Linked DNA regions of Homo sapiens: region 1 is linked to region 2. Evidence: promoter capture Hi-C in 16 types of primary human blood cells and fetal thymus (Javierre and others, 2016). All regions are on one chromosome and are shown on one strand. Each heading gives the region's core, a stretch centred on a gene start or on the middle of the fragment in contact. The rest is flanking DNA. Distances are from core to core; before and after follow the strand shown.

The links. The method cuts DNA at HindIII sites, captures the fragments that hold promoters and counts their contacts. A CHiCAGO score of 5 or more calls a contact.
Region 1: a contact is called between a fragment that was not itself captured here and the fragment with the promoter of WNT16 in region 2, in 1 of 17 cell types (erythroblasts). The highest score is 6.6, in erythroblasts.

What each region holds. Positions count from the first base shown.
Region 1 is chr7:120,782,626-120,787,500 of GRCh38, reverse strand. TSPAN12 (tetraspanin 12) reads left to right here. Exons shown (of 8, transcript NM_012338.4): 8 at 1-181. Among named protein-coding and RNA genes, the nearest start is that of TSPAN12, 73 kb to the left of the region's middle. RefSeq lists an enhancer at 4,483-4,875. The HindIII fragment of the contact is 1,146 bases long and covers 1,144-2,289 here.
Region 2 is chr7:121,325,978-121,330,490 of GRCh38, reverse strand. WNT16 (Wnt family member 16) reads right to left here and starts at 1,491. Exons shown (of 4, transcript NM_057168.2): 1 at 1,104-1,491; 2 at 674-924. The coding sequence starts at 1,198. The HindIII fragment of the contact is 8,913 bases long and covers 1-4,513 here.

The DNA of each region.
Region 1 (4,875 bases), core at 467-2,966, 540 kb after region 2:
TTTATTTCACTGATTAATATACTGTGGCAAATTACACAGATTATTAAATTTTTTTACAAGAGTATAGTATATTTATTTGAAATGGGAAAAGTGCATTTTACTGTATTTTGTGTATTTTGTTTATTTCTCAGAATATGGAAAGAAAATTAAAATGTGTCAATAAATATTTTCTAGAGAGTAATGATTTGTCTCTGCCTACTTTTTAATACATTACAAGCACTTATGCCACTTGAGAAGATTGTCAAGGGGAGAAAAACATGAGAAAGAATGATTGCATAAAGTATTAATATTGATTTCCAAACTCCGGAATGGACCTATAAGAATATGTATTTTCACTGAGAAGAGTCAAAAAGATGCCCATTTTTCACTTTTGCTTTTTACCTAAATGTTAAATAATATACTTGTTTGAGATAATATAAAAATATGCCCATTTGTGTTCATCTTTTCAATGTTTGCATATCACAGTTTTATAACTTATTAATTTTTAAGAGACTATGAGTCTCTTAGTTAATTTCAAATTCTCTTCAAATGAGTTAAGGAATATAATCCTTGAAATTGACTGCCATGTTTAAAATCTTCCATAGATTTTAATGAAAACTGAGTACATTACTTGTTCAATCAGAGCCAAAAGCATCCCTTTTAATAACTTCCTCAATACCCCAAATCCCTGTAATTTCACCTAAAATACCCACGTAACTGAGATAGCTATGTATGAGTTTTGTTTGAATTATTTGTATAATGGTCAAATTTAGCTGCTGCTTTTTTTGATATGTCTTACAGTCACAGCAAGAGCAAGCATATAATATGTTGGGCTCAGTAAAATAAAAAGTCCTCAAATTATAAAAGTTGCTTTCTACATTTTTAGACCTCAGATATTTTGATGTATTACCTGATACACTACCCTCTAGAATGGTCAACATAAATTTAGACAATCGTTTTGTATATAATACACTTGCTTAATGGGAATGAATGACATTTATAGCAGTAGCTCACAAAGCCTCTTATGGTAGCAGTGCACCTGGAATAATAAAACTGCAAGGGAGTTAAAAAAGTATATTTAATGCAGTAGAGCTGAGGGAGTTCACTATTTGGGTACATTGCAAACAAAACTGTTAACTGTTTCTTTGGGAATTTTTAAAAGCTTTCTTTGGTTAAAAAAAAAAATCACCATTTTTTAAAAGTAGAAATTTAAGAAGATTATTTTTAGACTGGTTAAAAGTCCATTCAAAGTGCCCTGGAGACTCAGAGATGGCAACAAGAGATGATGTCTGTCCTTAAACACTGTAGAATCTGGGTTAGAGACACTTGTGCTAACCACAGGAAAAATAAATAAGGGAATATGCAGTGAGTGGGGCCCTTCTTAAGAATAAGAGATGGAGTAGAGTGGAATTAAGGCAGCTATGCCAAGGAGATGGCGTTCAAGCTGGATCAGAAGGAGCAGTGGAGTCTAGCTGGCTCATGGAAAATATTCCATGAGCCATGAGTTTGAGGTTAAAAAGTATACATTATTTTGGAGTTATGACTTATGGTTCAATGTGGTTAGATCATAGAATGATTGAAGAGATGCCATGGGACAGGAAATGAATGAAATTTGAGTTTGGGTGCTTTGTTCTGTAGGCCCAAAGTAAAGTCACCGAAGCAATTTCAGAAAGAGAAATGATGAATATTTCATTAATTTAACTGGATTAGCCAAGTGAGAAAGAGGGGACCAGGAGACAGTTATACTTATTTTGCAACTCCTGGGTGGGTGGGCCACCATTGACCACAGCCTAGGTAAGTGGAGCACTTGAGAGTTGTACACACTGCAGGCCCTGGCAGGAGACTGAATAGATTGCTGTTGTTGTGGTCCTGGAGAGGGATAAGGATCCTCACCAGGACAATGGAAGTCAAAAAACAGAGTGCATAAAACAGATCACAACAGGGTGAATCCACAAAAATTGGCAGTAGCTAGACCTCAGGGAGTGTGGGACAAGAAGTAAAAGTACTGAAATTTCTGGATTTTGTGCCTGGCAAATTGGCAATGGCATTAACCTAGATGGAAGACTGGAGGGGAACGAGTATGAGAGGGTAATTAATTTGGTCTGAGACACAGAGTTGGAGATGCCTGCAGGACATGCAGATGGAGATGTCTACAGGCAGCTGTAAATTTCAGTCTGGAGCTCAGGAGAATTCACTGTCAAGCCTGAGAATTTTTATGCATTGCTTTCCCATCTCAGGAAGCCTGACAGAAAATGGGCTGGGAACCAAATCTTATATGAGGAGAATCTTAAATAGATTGCCACAGAAGCTTCCTTTTGTCTGAATTCCCTCTCCTGTGGATGAGTCAAGGGAGGTAAAGAAAGAAGAAATCACTATACTACTGAATCTTCTCTGGCAAAGAAGCTGCCCCTTTTTTAAAACACTGCCAACTGCTATGTTGCTTCACCCAACCCCCTTCCTATTGTCATCCTGAGATTTACAAGCAGATTCGTCTCCCCTGTGAACTGAGTTCTCATTTCCTCACATCCTAGAAACATATATAGGAGAATCTTTGGTATCATCTTGATCTTGAAAGCTTTTCTTTTTCTATTTTTATGTGTTAATTGCAATCACTCTTTACCTCATACTTTCAGGGGTGCGTACTAGGTACCAGGCACATGTAGGAGGTGCTTTACACTTATTTTCTCTGTTCTTCACAACTCATTTGCAATTTGCAGGCACCCCACTTTATTTTACAAATGAACAAGAGGGACTCCAAGAGACTGAATACATTTACTTAGCTAATATGTGGCAGAGCTATACTTCCACTTTCCCCATTTTGTGGCATGGTATCTTCACCAGCCTGTGGTGAAGCTCAGATGATTCTTTACCTAGAAAAGCCAAATTCTCCTACATGTAAATCAATATCACCAGGCCAAATCAAAATGATGCTCTTGTCTAACCTCATTCCTACTATTATTTCCCAAGAACAAGTATAAATTATCTAAAATATCTTGTACACACACATACACACACAGGCAAATTAAGTTCTGTTTTTTTTGAGACAGAGTCTCACACTGTCACCCAGGCTGAAGTCAGTGGTGCAACCTCGGCTCACTGCAACCCCTGCCTCCCAGGTTCAAGCGATTCTCCTGCCTCAGCCTCCCAAATGTCTGGGATTACAGCTGTGCATCACCACGCCTGGCTAATATTTTGTATTTTTAGTAGAGATGGGGTTTCACTATGTTGACCAGGCTGGCCTTGAACTCCTGACCTCATGATCCGCCCACCTCAGCCTCCCGAAGTGCTGGGATTACAGGCATGAGTCACCATGCCCAGCCCAAATTAAGTTCTTTAATCAACTTTATTGAGATTTTATATACATATATATATAAAAACATACTATATATATATACACACACACATACACACACACACACCCCTAATAAATATACCCCTTTCAAGTATATAGTTAATTAGTTTTGGCAACTATATATACTCATGTAACCACAACAACAATCGAGATCTAGAACATTTTCATCGTGTCAAAAAGTTTCCTCTTGCCCATCTGTGATAAATCCTGCATTCCCCTCTCCTAGCCCCAGGCAACACTGATCTGTTAACTATCACTCAGATTAATTCTTGTGAAACTTTATTCTTATCTTGCTGCTTCCTTACTCGAACACTTCCAGAGGTTCCTTGTTGTAAGAAAGGCAGAGCTTCCCAACTCATTCATGTATATGTTATTTATAAGACACGCTAGGATACGTGAAGCTCAGGGGCCACTGGCCACCCTAGGCCTTGCCTGGCTACCATGAGGACTACAAGGAAGCAATAGCTCAATTCAAAATTTTGGCTGCTATATTAGAGATTTCAAAATACCGTGGCTTAAACAAAATAGAAGTGAAATTTTAGCTCATAAAATGCATATGTGAGTAACCCGAACTATGGCTGCCTGAAGGTGTCTGGGACTCGGGATCCTTCTCTCTGGCTACTCTACAACGCTGAGGTGTTTGCTTTGCTCACATGGACCCAAGCAGCAGCCTACTTCCACATTTCACACAATAGGCCAGACAATGGGAAAGTTAAAGGGAAGGAAGCATACCTCTTCCCTTTAAGGACCTACTCAGAAGCACACACCACTTTCATTGACACCACACAGCTACAAGGAAGGGTCGTAAATGCTTTTTGTTCCGAACACTCATGCATCAGGTTAAACCAGGAATTTCAATAACCACACAGAAAGAATGGGTAATGAGTACTGCTGTCAACTAGCAAATCTCTGCCACACTCCTCAGTACCTGCAGAATAAAGTCTTCCACTACCTGATTATTTTTCCAAATCTATCTCCCTTAATACTTTCCCAAATATCACTAGAAACCAGCCAGCGGGACCAATCCTAGTCCACTCATTGCCTCTAACATCCCATATATCCTGTATCTCTTTGATTTTGCTCTCACCATGGTTCTTCGCTGGCATAACCTCATCTCCACAATTTCAGCTTGTACTCAACTTTGAAGTCCCAGCTCAGCAGCCACCTATTACATAAAGTTTCTCCTGACTACTCTAGTCCACAACAATTCATTCTTCTTGGAGCTCAGCATTAGTTACCATAACATCTAGTTTGATGTTTGTATTTTCAATTTATATATATATAGTCAGGCCTCTGAGCCTAAGCTAAGCCATCATATCCCCTGTGACCTGCATGTACACATCCAGATGGCCGGTTCCTGCCTTAACTGATGACATTCCACCACAAAAGAAGTGAAAATGGCCTGTTCCTGCCTTAACTGATGACATTATCTTGTGAAATTCCTTCTCCTGGCTCATCCTGGCTCAAAAGCTCCCCTGCTGAGCACCTTGTGACCCCCATTCCTGCCCGCCAGAGAAAAACCCCCTTTTTCCTTTACCTACCCA
Region 2 (4,513 bases), core at 242-2,741:
CTTTATCCTTACCAAGTCACTACGCACGTGGAAGTGGAACTTTGTTTTCCTGCAGCTTCCCGCGCCGCGGGAGTGCGCCGAGGAGGGAAAGATAGAAAAGCCAAAGAAACGAGAAGCGCACAAGTGGTCCTGCTCAGGTTAGCCGCACGTTGGGTGGTCGCGGACAGTCGCTTTAAAAGTCACCATTATTCTGTCAACTCGGTGCTCCTAGGAGCCAATAAAGGTGGGGCTTCGCTGCAATTAGCCACTTGTCCGGGGTTTGGTGCGCAGCGGAGTTGGTTAAATCAAAGCAGATGCGGCAGCCGCATTCCCCGCTGCCGACATCATGTTTCTCCAGCTGGTCACCCACGTAGGGGGGCGCTACGGGGTCCGAGGGGGTCGGCGGGGTAGGAGAATTAGAGTTTTTTTTCCAACTCTGGCGGGGCACCGCAGGAAAGAGGAAGAGCTCCAGCCCCTAGAGCTCCGCTCTGGAACTGGGGAGTCACCTCCCTCCAGGCTCGCACCTGCTCCCCAGGTCTGGCCTTTGTAGCTCTCAATCCCCGTGCACTAAAGGGCTTCTTCTGGAACTTAGAGAGCTACAGGACCACGTAGCACTATTTACTTTATTTGCAGGAACCGGTGGAGGAGTTGTCGCCTTCCGTCCCCCACCAACCCCTAAGGACCCAGGACTCACCGCTGCTCAGCTCGTAGCCAAAGAGGGGGCTGGCGCCCATCGGGGCGGTAGTGGCGGCGGCGGTGATCATGCAGTTCCATCTCTCGTGTCTGAACTGGCTCCCGCACTCCTGAATGCCCAGCCGGGCGCCCTCTCGGATGCTCGGCAGCAGGTACGGTTTCCTCTTGCACAGCTCCTTCTGGCGGCTGTTCAGCGGCAAATTGGCGCAGCCCAGCTTCTCTGGAACCCCGAAGGAGGCAATGCCCAACCACCTGTAAGACACGGCCGCCCGTAGCGTTAAGCCGCTCCCCAATTCCAGATGTTTTCCGAAAAATTAGGTCACTCGTCTAAGGGTCCCCGCCCTTCTCCCCCAGCCTCAGTTGAAAGTTCCCTAGGATTGGGCACCCCTTTTGCCACCTACCCGATGCTTCCCTGCCACCTCCATACTCACATCCAGTTTCCTTGGGCTCCGTAGGGGAACAGCACGAGCAGGGCTGCCCACAGCGCGCACAAGCGGGCCAGTCCCAGGAGCGCCGCCCTGTCCATCGCCCCCGCATGGAGTCCCCCAGCCCAGCCGCTCCTCTTTTGCACCCCCTCCCCAGAGGCCCTTCGGGCCGCAGGTCAGTTGTCCAGCACCAAGTTATCCCTCGCCCTCTTCCTCCTTGCATACAACATTAAAAGGCCAGCAGTGATAGGGACTCTCAGCAGCTTCCCCCTCGTTTGCAGGGAGCTGTAGGAGAGATGGAGAGAGCAGCCTGGGGATCTCCTCCTGCGCAGGGGTGGAGATGTGCAGGAGATGCGGGAGCGCCCCTCGCATTCCTAGGTGAGAAACTTCTGTTGATGTATCCGCGTCTCCATCGCCCCCGGCCTCTCCTCCCATCTCCTCCCCCTGGCCGCGCCTGGAGCCTGATTGGCTGAGCAGCGGCCCCGCATCTCATCATCTCGGGACCTCAGGCTCTTATTGGTGGAGAGCGGCTCCGCGGGGGGCGCTCCGGGCACTGGCCTCAGGGACAGCGTGTCCAGACCTGGGTGTGTCATGACCTTTCCTGCTGTCACAGTCTCCTTAGAACGGGTCGTTGTGGGGTTGATTCAACCCGAAGACTAACAGGACGCTCTGTCTTAGCAACCTTGGGGGAAAGCGTGGGTTTGATGAGTCCCACCCATCCCACCAACATCTGGGTTACCCTCTGGGTGTAGTGGCTGGAAAATGTCACTGACCTTTTTTTCTTCTCCTTCACCTCACAGGAGAATAATCTTTTTGAGTCAGAGTTGGTACCGAACAAATTAACCTTCCAGTCCCCTGCTTGAGGTCCCACTGTCAGGAGACTTTAGAGAGTGGGTGAAGTGCTGTCAGGCTTACAATCACTGTCATTTATGTATGCATTTATTTTGAGCGAAAGAGAAGATTCCAGTCTAGCATCTCATCTGCCATATTTCAATCGTGCTCTGTGATTTCCTTTTCCCTATTTGTCTTATTTCCTGCAGTCCCTGAGAACGCTGTAAGTCCCCTGCAGAAGATGGGGACAAAGAAAGTGAGAGGTTTCTGGAGAGTTCTAGAGTACATGAGAGATGTGCTCTGATCTTTTTCTCCAGTCCTACCTTACGATTCTCATGGTGGGAGGGTCCCTGCCCTTCTCCCCCAACCTCAGTTGAAAGTTCGCTAGGATTGGGCACCCCTTTGCCACCTACCCGATGCGTCCCTGCAGGACAGGGCTACACATGGAAGACACATTTTTAAAAACGTACTTATTAAATACCTGCTGTGTGCCTAGTCCTGTGGGAATTTATAAAGACAAGCTCTCTTCCCACAACTGTACAAATAAACCATACACAAGTGTAAAAGAAAATACGTTTAGATGATCAGTAAGAGAGATTAAAGAATCTAGCAGGGTACTCCCTGGAGCCGAAGATAGTTCAGAAGCAGGAAGTGTTCCAGTTACTGGCAGATTTGGAAGGTTAGTTAATCAGTGTTTTGTAGGATGGAAGGTCTCCGAGAGTTATCTGAAGGCAAGTGCAACGTGTTTAGCTGTGGTATTGGGAAAGCCTGCCTCACCTAATTAGACACAAGAAATGTTTCTAAGAAGCATTATCTGTCCTTAGAGATCTTTTGAAGTGTTAATACATTCCCATGGTGGACGTATCAGCTCAGTGGGTACCCAAAGCCAAAATTACTTAAATAAAGGATTTGGGGCCAGGTGCAGTGGCTCACACCTGTAATCCCAGCACTTTTGGAGGCCAAGATGGGCGGATCACCAGAGGTCAGGAGTTCAAGACCAGCATGGCCAACATGGTGAAACCCTGTCCCTGCTAAAAATACAAAATTATTTGGGTGTGGTGGTGCATGCCTGTAATCCCAGCTACTCGGGAGGCTAAGACAGGAGAATTGCTTGAACCTAGGAGGTGGAGGTTGCAGTGAGTTGAGATAGCGCCACTGCACTCCAGCCTATGGCACACAGTGAGACTCCGACTCAAAAAAAAAAAAAAAAAAAGGATTAGATAGCATTAGCTGCTTATCTCCTATATCAATCAGTGAGCAATAAAAGCTCACTGAAATTTTCATCCTATCCCATTCACTCCCTTATCCAACAAATGTTTATTGAGTGTACACTATGTACCAGGTTCTAAAGCCACATTTTAAAGAGTCGAGGAGTCAAGTTGATGATAGGATGTAGATACTGATCCAGAAATATTTTGGCTAACGGCTAGTGGCCTCTCTGAAAGTCAGAGCCTTCATCCAAGCTCACTTTATTCTGTGAGCTTCTCCAAGAGGGACAATGGCGGATTCATTGCTGTACCCCTGCCATTGGGCCTAGTACATAAGATCCTGTTTTTGAACAAAATTTATTGAGTGAATTAACAATGAGGAACATCCTGAGTGGATATGTAAGAGGCCTAAATGCTGGAACTACAGTTTTTACTTCATTTCAAGGGGAATTGGAAGTGGGGAGGCAATCTCCGGGTTGGGGGTGCTGGACAATATCCATACCTTAGGCTGATTTTAGGGCCAACGGTGGTAGATGTTTTAAAGAGGTGTTTGATTTTTTAAAAAATCAAAAACATATATTGAGTCTCTGTTATGGGTTAGAAAGTGGGGATAGCACTTACTCAAATGATCATGGAATTCACAGTCTACTTGGCAAGACAGACAAGGGAGCATGCAGCTATAATACGTGCAATAAATGTACAAAGTAGAGTGTGCTGTGAACACACAAAGGAAGATTACTTATTTCAGTCTTGGGGATCAGAGTGGGGAGGAGACACTTGAATGTTACCTTCATTATTATTCTGGGAATCTAGCACCATCTACGCATCCAGATAAAGCCTTTGGGGTGCACTCAGAGGGTATTCTGTCCTGAGAGTCAGAGACCACTGTGTCAAACATTTTCAAACACAAGACACAATTTTAGGGCGTGAGTGGTCTTGCATCTCTTTTGTATGGGCTAGAGCCTTAGGGGTCATTCTGTCCATATCTCCAAAACAAAGGAGACATATTTCTAGGAGCTGACCCAGCTGAGGAAGCAGATTTTTCATTCAGTGAACAGATATTTGAATGATAATTTTGTTCCAGGCATTGTGAACTTTCATGTTCTGAGAGCTGCCATACACTCCCAAATCCCTCTTACTGTCTTTATTTGTCTCTCTGTCTCTGTCTCATTCTCCATCTTTCTCTATACAAAATTGATACTCACTTTACAGATGAGGAAATTAATTTGGGGAGATTAAGAAACTTGCTCGAGGTTACTCAAAAACAATCAACCTTTAGAGGCCCCTCCTTTTTTTTTTTTTTTTTTTTTTTTTTTGAGATGAGGTATCATTCTATTGCCCAGGTTGGAGTGTAGTGGCTCTATCATGACTCACTGC